Regions from separate parts of the Homo sapiens genome. Here all the other regions are linked to region 2. The links are contacts of gene promoters, found by promoter capture Hi-C in blood cells and fetal thymus (Javierre and others, 2016). All regions are on one chromosome and are shown on one strand. Each heading gives the region's core, a stretch centred on a gene start or on the middle of the fragment in contact. The rest is flanking DNA. Distances are from core to core; before and after follow the strand shown. Region 1 holds the start of DYNC1I1 (dynein cytoplasmic 1 intermediate chain 1). Region 2 holds the start of SEM1 (SEM1 26S proteasome subunit). Region 3 overlaps SLC25A13 (solute carrier family 25 member 13). Region 4 overlaps SLC25A13 (solute carrier family 25 member 13).

Region 1 (2,700 bases), core at 158-2,657, 940 kb after region 2:
AGTATTACATTCTCACCAGTACCCTCAGCTTGCAAATTGCACTGAATATTCCCTTTTCAAATTTACTAACACTGATCAACGTATATCTCTATAATTTCCACAATTAAAGTATGTACACAGACTGGTTACCCATGTCTGTGTTAACATCAGGCGTTGGGTTGTCACCTGCAGTTGCCTATGCCTTACTGTTAGCTATACTTTTTGCTAATCTGGAATATTTGGAAGCAATTCTTCACAACTCTGAACTACAATAAGTCTACAATGCCCACTTGAAAGGCATTCCAAGCAAGAAAATGGCTGGCTACTTGTTCCTGCCCCTTACCTAGGATTAGTAGAGGCCAGAATAGCGAATATATTCCATCTTCTGCATGTTGTTGAGTCTCTGATCTCCTATGTAATTTCCTGTCCTGATCCTGGGCTTCTGTTTAATCTTATTAGCCAAGGTACAAGTCATGAGACTCCCGCACACTCAGTTCCCATCAGCGCTGCCAGGATCACTGCCCTTATGATGACGACGCACGGATTTATAAGGCCAGAGCGATTCCGAATGGGAGCGGGGGAAGGAGAGCCAGGCGGCCGTGAAGGTGTTTACCAAAACAACATCCCCCAGCCACACTTTTTCGCAGCAGAGAGAAACTGGCATCTTCTCGCTTTGAAGTGTTTAATTAATGCCCTGCTGGAAGTGAATTCGCTCCCTCCGACTTGCAGGGTAGTGACAGCATCTAAGAGCTTTGCAGACAGCTCGAAATGTAATCAAACAGCATCCTTTCCCCTCCCTCTGCAGCTTTCCCCCTCCTCCAGGGGCAGTCAGCCGGTGGCCCAGAGGGGTGCAGATTTCAGCGCCGCTCGCCCACTGCTCCCCCGGGGAAGACCGAGGCGGGGCGCACTGGGACGCCCTTCCCAGCCCACAAGGTGGGCGACCAGGTGGTGACACCACGACCCTTCCTTCTCTGCCCTAGTCTCTCGGCTCTGCCGAGAGGGGGGTGTCACTGGGGGGCTTTGGCCGCCTTCGGGCTCAGCGGAGCACGCAGGAGCCTGGGCAGGGGGCCAGGACAAGGGTCCGGCTGCGGCTGCAGGGGCCTCGGCTCCAGCCTGGTTCCCAGCGCAGACGACACCGGGGTGGGGAGGGTTGGGGAGAGGTGCGGAGGCGGCCGTCCGGGGAGCGGCGACATCCCGCTCCAGTTTACCTGGACGCGCTCGGCAGCGGCGGAACTGGGCTCCCCGAGCCGGCGGCGGCTCCTGGGCGGCGGCAGCGTTGGTGCAGGCGGCTCCCGAAGGTGGCGGGGCCGGCGCGGGCAGGATGTGCTGTCTCACGCTGCGCCGGCCGCTCGGCTCGCGCTCCTCCGGGAGCGATCACTTCCTCTCTCCCAGAGCCTGACACTGACAGCTCCCCGGAGCACTCAGTCTGCGGGGCTCGCCCCGCCCCCTGCCCACGCCCTCCACGCCCGCGCCCCTCCTGAGGGAGGGCCTCCGCTCCGCGTCTTCCGCGCCCGGTCTCGCCAGGAGGGGGTGGCGCCGCTCCGTAGGCTGGTGGCGAGCAGAGGACCTGGAAAGGTCAATTCGTCTATCCCTCTAACGTCGGTAGGACTTAGACCTCAGTTGCTGCAAAGAGAAGAGCTTCAATATTCTGGGAGCTCCTGCTGAAATGCCACCATTGAACAACTTTCACTCCCAGGCAACTACACTTCTTAAGGTCATTTAAATAGAAATAAAGCTCAGATCTACCTGTTGTACACAATGACTTATAGGTCTGATTGATCCCAATTTTTCTAGAAGAAAAAAGAATTAAGTGTGTGTGTCTGTGTGTGTGTGTGTGTGTGTGTGTGTGTGTGTGGTGTGGTGTGTGTGTAGCTTGTCTTCACATTGCTTCTTAAAGTCCCAGCTTTTAAAAATCTGGGTAACTGGCCAGACGCGGTGGCTCACGCCTGTAATCCAAGCACTTTGGGAGGCCGAGGAGGGCGGATCACCTGAGGTCGAGAGTTGGGGGACCAGCCTGACCAACATGAAAAAACCCCGTCTCTACTAAAAATACAAAATTAGCCGGGCGTGGTGGTGCATGCCAGTAATCCCAGCTACTCGGGAGGCTAAGGCAGGAGAATGGTTGAACCCGGGAGGCGGAGGTTGTGGTGAACCGAGATCCCGCCACTGCACTCAAAGCCTGGGCAACAAGAGCGAAACTCCGTCTCGGGGAAACAAAAAAAAATCTGGGTAACTATTATTGGACTCTGCAAAAAACAAGCTTGCCACAACAGCTAAGTTATAAGGCCAAAAAATTGAGTTTGGGATGTTAGGGGGTTTGGTATCATTTTATAGATGAGCTTTTCATCATATTTCTTGCACATCTGTGGTGTATTTTTACACATTAGAATGTAAATTAGTGGAGGGCAGGGACGCTATCTTGTTCACTGCTGTATTCTTAGTATCTAGAACAGCATTCTGATATATAATGGGTACTCAGTAAATATTTATGAACTTATTAATTCACAAGTACTACAGTAATTTCAAAATAAATACAGATTCTAGTATGAATACAGTATGAATACATACTCATCTGTAAATGGCCATCCTTATTCTAAAACTTTGGCCTCCCTGGCTAATCTACTGCGATTGTAACTATGGCTAGAAATGAAGAGGTTAAATGTCTAGGTAGAAGGTATTCAAGGTATTCCAGAAGGAAAAATCTAGGAAATAAATATTTGC
Region 2 (2,700 bases), core at 188-2,687:
AATCACCATATTGCTGTTGATTTTTTTCTTTTGCTAAGGATTGATACAAACTTCATCATATATCAAATGAAATAAATAATAGGTCCAGGAACTAAAATTTGGGTTTTCTGATTCCTTGGCAAAATCTTTTTTTTTTTACCTTCTTTAAAAAATTATTTTAATTGACAAATAAAAATTGCCTATATTTGGGAGCACATGTTTTAAAATACAAATACATTGTATAATGACTAAATCACACTAAATAAGATATGCATTACCTGACATAATTTTTTTGGTAGTGAGATACCATTATTTTCAGTAATCTATATAAATCAAATAGTATAAGAGATACATTTTTTAAAAATTTCATCTAATTGTAGTTCTTGGCCAAGTTTGTTCTACATTTAGTTATTCAATTTTCTGTATTCCCAAACACTCTGTTCATTTCTCACTAATATTAAGATGCAGATTCAAGTGGATTACTGTGTTTCATTGTGATTTATCTGTTTACATGTCTCTGAGCAGCATATAAGCTCCTTGAAGAAAGGGACCTTGTCTATACATGTTTGATGCACAGCTCCTGGTAAGCGGTATGACCTTACATTGTTGAATAAAGGAATGGCATTTATAGATATAATCTGGAACATGTATCAACATTTACAATAATACTCAATTTGTGTACGTATATTCCATAATATTCATCCATATACATCCATATATTATATATAGAGTTCCATGAAGTTCACTACTGTATTCAAAATGATATTCAAATGCTATTCAAACAATTCTAAATGATATATTTTGAACACCATAAAATGTTACACAAATCCATAAATAGCATTACTGTATAATAACCTGTAAACCAGAGTTACTACACACACATACACACCACACAAATTCTATTTAAAAAGCTATTTTACCACAAAGTAATTCTAAGACCTTATAAACACTGCCTAATGGAAAAGTCTGGAGATTGGAGCCAGGCAAAAAAATCTGCATTTCGGTTGTCTAGAACTACCTGAGTGACTTCGGCTGCTTCCTACCGAACCTGAATTTTCTGTGATGTGGAGACATTTAATACCACCTTTAGGGAACTGGCTTAAGGACTGGAGGTAATAACGTATGTGAAGGGCTGATGAATGTTTGCAGTCACACTGTAGTCTCTCTAGAGTTCCTTCCTCGGTTGCAAACTAAGGGTTTTTTTGTTTGTTTGTTTTACACATTATGAGTCTCTTATAGTCAGGAAAACTACACGGATCTCAACTTTGGCAATACAGAGAGTCCGAATAACAAGGTAGAGACCAAAAAAAAAAAAAAAAAAAAATCACCTCTACAACTCGGAAAAAGCGCTAACCCCGCAGGAAGCGCTGGGCCGACCTCCAGTATCCCAGCATTCCTCGCGCTGCTCCCGTATTCTTTCCCCAAGTCTCTATGGTAGCGTCAGCGTCGGAGGCGGTAGTGACGGTGGCGTTTCCTTGAGGAAGAGTGAGGGTTCCAACTTTTCTGCTTATCTGGGAGGTGTTGGGCGCGGACAGTCGAGATGTCAGAGAAAAAGCAGCCGGTAGACTTAGGTCTGTTAGAGGAAGACGACGAGTTTGAAGAGTTCCCTGCCGAAGGTAACCGCTGGGCCCCGGTTTCTGTGTCGCGCGAACGGTGACTCAGGCCTCCGTGTGGAGGTAGCTTGGGTGCTCGGGCCCAGCTGGGGGCACCGGCGGGAAGTTTGGACTCCCAGGGCCGGCACTCGAGGCGCTAACGCTCACCCCTCAGTGGCGCCCCAGATTCGGGTTTGGGGTGTTGCGCTGGGACTCACTGGTGAGGCCCAATGGCTTCGGCTTCCTCACTGGGAGGAGCCACCGTGAGTCTGGACCCATAGCCCCGCGTCTGTGATGGTTGGTCCATTTACTGTTCACCTGGGTTACTCACCACTTAAACTTAGTTCAAGTCTACATAACCTCCTTTTCTTTTTGTTTTAGCAGTCTTTCTTTGTCTTTAAACCTTTCCAGAATTGAATTGTCAGTAGTTACGCCAATGCTGCTTAACTTTTAGGATGTTACAAATGAAGCCTCATTAAGTAGGATAGGAGGGTAAGATACGGGGTGCTTAATACACATTATTGCCTCATTCCTGTTCCTCACCATTTTGATCACTTAACTGTGACCTAACTTAATGCTTTATAAGACCCTAAAACTTGCCGGGTGTGGTGGCTCACGCCTGTAATCGCAGCAGTTTGGGAGGAAGAGGCAGGAGGATCACATAAGGTCAGGAGTTCAAGACCAGCCTGGGCAACATAGCGAGACCCTGTCCCTACAAAAATAAAATATTTTTTTAAAAGAACCTAAACCTTACACATTTTTTTTTTTAGCTTCAAAACTAAAGACCTGGTTTTTTCATTGTAGATAATAGCAAATTGCTAACATTTATTGAGTGGCTGTTGTTTTCAGGAACTTGTCTAAGTGCTTTACTTGTAATAGCATATTCCACTTTCATAAATATAAGAAGTAGGCCTCAGTATTGCCATTCTTCAGATAAACTGAAGCTCGGAATGGTTAAGAAACCTTCTGATGTCTCATAACTAGTTAGAAATAATAGAACTGGAACTGGGAAACCTGGCCTGATTGACACCAAAGCTCTTAACTTCAGCTGTACTGCTTCTGTTTGTGAGATTGCTGTTGCCAGTTAGGTTTTCAAAATAGGCTGCTTTATTGGCTGATGGTTGATGAG
Region 3 (2,700 bases), core at 173-2,672, 540 kb after region 2:
AAATTAGCCGGGCGTGGTGGCAGGCGCCTATAGTCCCAGCTACTCGGGAGGCTGAGGCAGGAGAATGGCATGAACCCAAGAGGCGGAGCTGGCAGTGAGCCGAGATCGCGCCACTGCACTGTAGCCTGGGCGACAGAGTGAGACTCCGTCAAAAAAAAAAATACAAACTGGCGCTTGTCCTCATTGAGGTACGGGCCTCAAAGCAGGGTGGGCACCACCTTGCATGGTTTCTGTCTGAAGGATGGAGCCTCATGCAATAGAGCAGATGGCTGGGATGTCAGAAAGAGGCCCGGGGTCAGTCAGAGTTCGGTCAGAACTGAGCCCATGAACTGACTGTTAGGTCAGTGTGTTCATTGATCTTTTTTTTTTTTTGAGGCAGAGTCTCGCTCCATTGCCGGGCTGGAGTGCAGTGGTGCAATCTCGGCTCACTGCAACCTCCACCTCCTGGGTTCAAGCAATTCTCCTGTCTTGGCCTCCCAACTAGCTGGGACTACAGGTGCCTGCCACCACACCCAGCTAATTTTTGTATTTTTAGTAGAGACAGGGTTTCACCTTGTTGGTCAGGCTGGTCTCGAACTCCTGACCTCAGATGATCCACCCTCCTCAGCCTCCCAAAGTGTTGGGATTACAGGCATAAGCCACCGTGCCTGGCCTCATTGATCTTTCTTACAAGGAGGTCAGATTATGTTTGAAACTTTTTGTTACTCAATAAAACACACTTATAGGTTGGATACATATGGCATTCAAGCTAGTGACCTCTCAGGCTGCTCCTTTAGGAAGAGAGTGTGGGCAGGGCTGGTCCCTCAGAAGAGGCTGTGAGTGGACTTTCTTACATAGATAAATTAGAAAATTGTACTTCCAATGAAGAATATTACCATGAACCTCTCTCAGTATGACACAGGGTGCAACATGCTCCTACCTTCAGGGTTAGCTTGGTGTGTGTTTCCAAGAAAAAACAACTGTGATTTAATTTTTTTTTCTTTAAGAAGAACAAATGAAAATGATGACATTTTTTAGTTCAGATACGTAGCTCCACTAAATGTTCTAACTGCCTTCCCCAAAATTGGTCCTTGTTTTAGAAAATCAAGTGGTCCACTGATTTAGAAGGCAGAAGGGAAGGAGCAGACTTTGGGGGAATAATGAGATTTCCTATATCACTAATACTGTTGATTTACCCAATGTGCAAACGATCCAGAATGTGAGATGGAATGTACTTGGGACTGATGCGGCTGTTAGAAGTTAGTACTTAAACATTCCATTTCAAATATTCTCATTAAGGGTAATAGCAGAAAATTGCAGCAGAGATTAAGCAGTTTTTAAGTGGTAATCCCCTCTGTAGAACTGTTGATTTGTTTAGTTAATGCTAATTTATTTAATATACTTCTACTTTTTGTTGATTTTTAGGTCTGTTGCCACAGTTATTGGGAGTTGCCCCAGAGAAGGCCATAAAACTTACAGTAAGTCTTTTGAGTTGGTGCTTCTTATTAAGGGATTTTGTACATACTCAAGAATCTAGCAGGTATTCTTATAGGAAACAGCAGGTTTGTTTTCTCAGAGGTGCTAGCTAATTTGAAAGCAGGGGAACTCACCACACACATTTTTTCATTATTCTCCATTTAGCAGTGGACATCCAAAAATGTGATAATAAACTTGAGGACTTTTGGTGGTTGCTGCCATCATTGTTGTCATCACAGCAGTAGCAGCTAAATTCCCTTCAGTATCTACCATATTAGGCACATGACGTATATTACGTTTTACTGGTTTAATCTCAAGCAAAGCATGATCCACAGTTTACGGATAAGGAAACTGAGGCCTATCGGGCTTAAGTAGCATACCTGTGTTCACACAAATCATGAGTGGGAGAACTAGAATTTAAAATCACACTTGTCTGACTCCAGAGCATGTCTTTCTATTACACCTGCTGTTTTTATAGGATTCATGGTTAGGGTGTGTTCTATAAAGCCAAATGTGCAGGGATCTGGGTTCTAGTTGAAGTTGATCCTTTATCAGATTATTTGCCCAGTGCTTGGCTCACATTTGACAGATGGTTGATATTCAGTTTAAGCGTTTGTGGAATATACAAATATTTGCATCACTAAGGCCACAAAGCCCCAGAAAGTAAAACTCTAGCTTTAGGTTGGGCTGCGTAGCTTTGGAGCCTGAAATTCTTCTTTTACCATTTTGTTATGTGACCTTGAGATAGCTAATCTTCTCTGGCCTATGTCTGCCAAAAAGATATGACTGTTTCTTAAAATTTCTTGTACTACATACCATTTTGAGAATATTATATTAATTAATTAATGTAATTTATGTTCTTTGAGAATCCTTGAGGAATTTTTAGATATTGAATTTCTTCTAAGCTGAAAAAGTCTGCTCAGCCAAATTTATCTCCATGATGAGTACTGTTTTAGATTAATTCTTGTTAGAAGACTTGAAAGTGATTTTTAATCAAGCCTTATAAAACAGTTTTAAGTTGTAAGATGTATGTTTTTATTTTGTCACTATTGTCAGTGTGTCTCCCTTCTTAAGCTATTCTAATTGCAGAACATATTTTTGGCTTTCATTTATCTTTTAACTTTTCTCCTGAAACATCAGTGATGCATATATATTTTTCATTTTTTAAAACTATTATACTATTAAGAGTACTTCTCAAACTATTTTAAGATCTGTTAAATTGTGCAATTTATGATTACTCCAATA
Region 4 (2,700 bases), core at 94-2,593, 580 kb after region 2:
ATAGTTATACAAGTGCCATGGTGGTTTGCTGCACCCATCAAGCCATCATCTAGGTTTTAAGCCCCGCATGCATTAGGTATTTGTCCTAAAGAGCATTGACTTTCCTATTATTATCCACCTTCCTCCTGATCCCCCGTTTCTGGTAAAATGGGAAAATACCGAGTTTGCCCTGTTGATTTTAGTCTTCAAAGAGTGAATAAGCTACAAAGCTTGATGGTCTTTGTGTATTCTACAAAACTATAAAAACTGTGTAATGCGAAGTAAGCTACTTTCTTAATTTAATAACAGATATCAGAAGCCAGTGGTCAATGTCATAGTTACCATTCCAATTAAAGTTAGGAATAAGACAAGGATGTCTCTCTCATCTTTGTTATTCAGCCATATTTTGGAGGTTCCAGTCAGCATGGTAAAATAAAGTAAAAGGCATAAATAAAAGAAGAAAGGAAGCAGTCATTATTTATAAATGATTATTTACCTGAAAATCAAAATTAAAATGTCTAAGAAGTATATTAGAATTAGGAAAAAAGATTAGTAATGCATTTTGTTATAAAATAAACATAAAAAATCTATATCCAGTGAGCAGGAGTGATGTCATGGGGTGAGCAGGGCTGAGTGTGGAACCTTGCTGAGATGCTCAGGCAGAGCTGAGTTCAGTGTGGAGAAGGGCAAGACTTTTGTCAGAAGTGTGCCCCGTGCAACCCCAAGAAGGGCAGTGAGCAAGCACAAATGTGCACTAATCCTGAATGGGCTGTTGGGTGGAGGACGGATCAGGCCCCCACATTCCCTTTGTGGTTGCCAAGAAGAGCAAAGGCATTTCTTAGGGAGAGGATACATGGTATTCAGAGAATCCCAGAAAGTATTTAATAGGAGAAAAGCTTCTTTCAAAATACAAAAATCCTCCTTTTTAGATGGAGTTTCAGGCAACTACAATGAATAATTGTTGGCCTCTAACTTATAAAACAAAAATGTCTCATGGCTATTTTTATATGTACCATATTTAAATTGATCACTTATACATAAAATATTTTTTGCTGAACATCAGCCTATTATAAATAATATGGACCTGTGATTAAATGAATATGACCACGCTTTCTATGTTTAGATAATAATTTCAATTATTCAGTAATGTTATCTCACTGTTTTCTTTCCAAAAATTTGATTAGCCTTGAGGTTAGATTGTTTTAGTAATATGTAGCTTTTTAGCAAAAGTGGTTATTGGTATCCTCACCTAGAGAATGTTGGGTTTTGGTGTTTTTGTTTTTGTTTTGTTCATGTATCTAGTTATAAACTGGGACTATATTTAAATACTGGAACATCTACTCCGTTATTTCACAAGATAGAACAAGACTAACCAATATTTGAATTCATGTTCATTGGCCAAAGTACATCAGCTTTGTCAGAAAGTGAAGACCGAAGCGGGGGTCCTGAAATTAAGAAATCAAATTCTAATTATCTATAATTAACATGGTGCTTTATCATTAATGAAGGGCATTTCAATACACCTTGTGAATGATATCAAATAAAATATATCTAATACTCAAATTTTATAGAATGCTCTATCATACCAGATGATTTTTATCAGAGTGATAAGATAGAGGAACAAGTCAAACTGTAATGATGGTCTCACCTTTGAATTAATTAGCTTGAGATTAAGTTGTAATACAGAAATACCTTTAAAAGCTGTTCCAGTACACAGAAGTGGAAGTGTGTTATACATGTGTGATCATGATGCTTTTGCAAACATTAGATTGTGTATTATGAGAAAACTACTGTTGGTACAAATTTGTTAATTATGTGGACATAAAGCTTAAGTTATAATAGTTTAAAACCAGTCCTTAAACCCTTAAAAAAAGTAATGAAGAAATTGAATCAAGACAATAGACTGAGCATATTCATCCATCTCTCCTGTCTTCCCAAATACCTTAAAATGTCAGGAAATGCATTTTTAAAAAATTCTTTATTGGCACTAGAAAATGCTAATCTGGCCCTCAGCAGAAAGGAAATAGCCATATTGACTCTGAAACTGGACTGAGAGATGCCCCAGTCCAAAACACAGCAGGAGAAACTACCTCTAATGCAAGGGCTGAACTGGAGAATGTTAACCTTTGAGTGAAGAATAGAATGCCTGGGGTGGAGGTGGAGGTTTTAGGGTAAATCATTAACATGAGTTAGGCAACTATACTTTCTTCAGGATTGCCAGGCTTGGAGCTCTCTCCTGGTTTTCATATGGAGCTTCAGGAGACAGTTGTATCCAAGTTAAAAGCTCAGAGCTCAATTTTAAAGAAAGAGACCACTTCCCTAGAGAGGATAAGTGTAAGGAATGGACAGAAAGTAGGGCAGGACTTAAGGTAATTCAAGACTTCTACCACAGATGCAGGAAAAAATAAAGTGATGGCAGCTTTTCCCAAGAAGAATTAAGGATTTAAAATAAATTCTTCTACCCCCAAAGTGAAGTTCCCTACATTTCAGCAGTTCGGAGGGTCCACACCCTGCCAGCATATCCTAACCCCTTGCACCCAGTTACACAAAGCCCATAGACCCTCCCATTCAGGAGAGAGACCTGTGGGTGAAGCATACCTAGAATATGGTAGAAGTCACCCACAACATTTGTATATAATACTAATCAGCCTATCCTTTGAACTTGAATAATATCAATAGACAACCAGAGATCCCCAGCCATGAAGGAGCAACAAAGTAAGT

What was found. The method cuts DNA at HindIII sites, captures the fragments that hold promoters and counts their contacts. A CHiCAGO score of 5 or more calls a contact.
Region 1: the fragment with the promoter of DYNC1I1 here is called in contact with the fragment with the promoter of SEM1 in region 2 in 3 of 17 cell types (neutrophils, endothelial precursors and megakaryocytes); the score reaches 8.7 in neutrophils.
Region 3: a contact is called between a fragment that was not itself captured here and the fragment with the promoter of SEM1 in region 2, in 1 of 17 cell types (endothelial precursors). The highest score is 5.8, in endothelial precursors.
Region 4: a fragment that was not itself captured here is called in contact with the fragment with the promoter of SEM1 in region 2 in 1 of 17 cell types (endothelial precursors); the score reaches 6.2 in endothelial precursors.

Annotation. Positions count from the first base shown.
Region 1 is chr7:95,771,261-95,773,960 of GRCh38, reverse strand. DYNC1I1 (dynein cytoplasmic 1 intermediate chain 1) reads right to left here and starts at 1,407. Exons shown (of 17, transcript NM_001135556.2): 1 at 1,188-1,407. The HindIII fragment of the contact is 2,753 bases long and covers 1-2,241 here.
Region 2 is chr7:96,708,583-96,711,282 of GRCh38, reverse strand. It overlaps SEM1 (SEM1 26S proteasome subunit), which reads left to right and starts at 1,437. Exons shown (of 3, transcript NM_006304.2): 1 at 1,437-1,595. The coding sequence starts at 1,520. RefSeq lists enhancers at 1,163-1,252, 1,423-1,622. The HindIII fragment of the contact is 9,533 bases long and covers 1-2,700 here.
Region 3 is chr7:96,170,229-96,172,928 of GRCh38, reverse strand. SLC25A13 (solute carrier family 25 member 13) reads left to right here. Exons shown (of 18, transcript NM_014251.3): 12 at 1,405-1,457. Among named protein-coding and RNA genes, the nearest start is that of MIR591, 48 kb to the left of the region's middle. The HindIII fragment of the contact is 3,804 bases long and covers 1-2,700 here.
Region 4 is chr7:96,126,008-96,128,707 of GRCh38, reverse strand. The region is part of intron 15 of SLC25A13 (solute carrier family 25 member 13); the gene reads left to right. It also overlaps the pseudogene CYCSP18. Among named protein-coding and RNA genes, the nearest start is that of MIR591, 92 kb to the left of the region's middle. The HindIII fragment of the contact is 931 bases long and covers 878-1,808 here.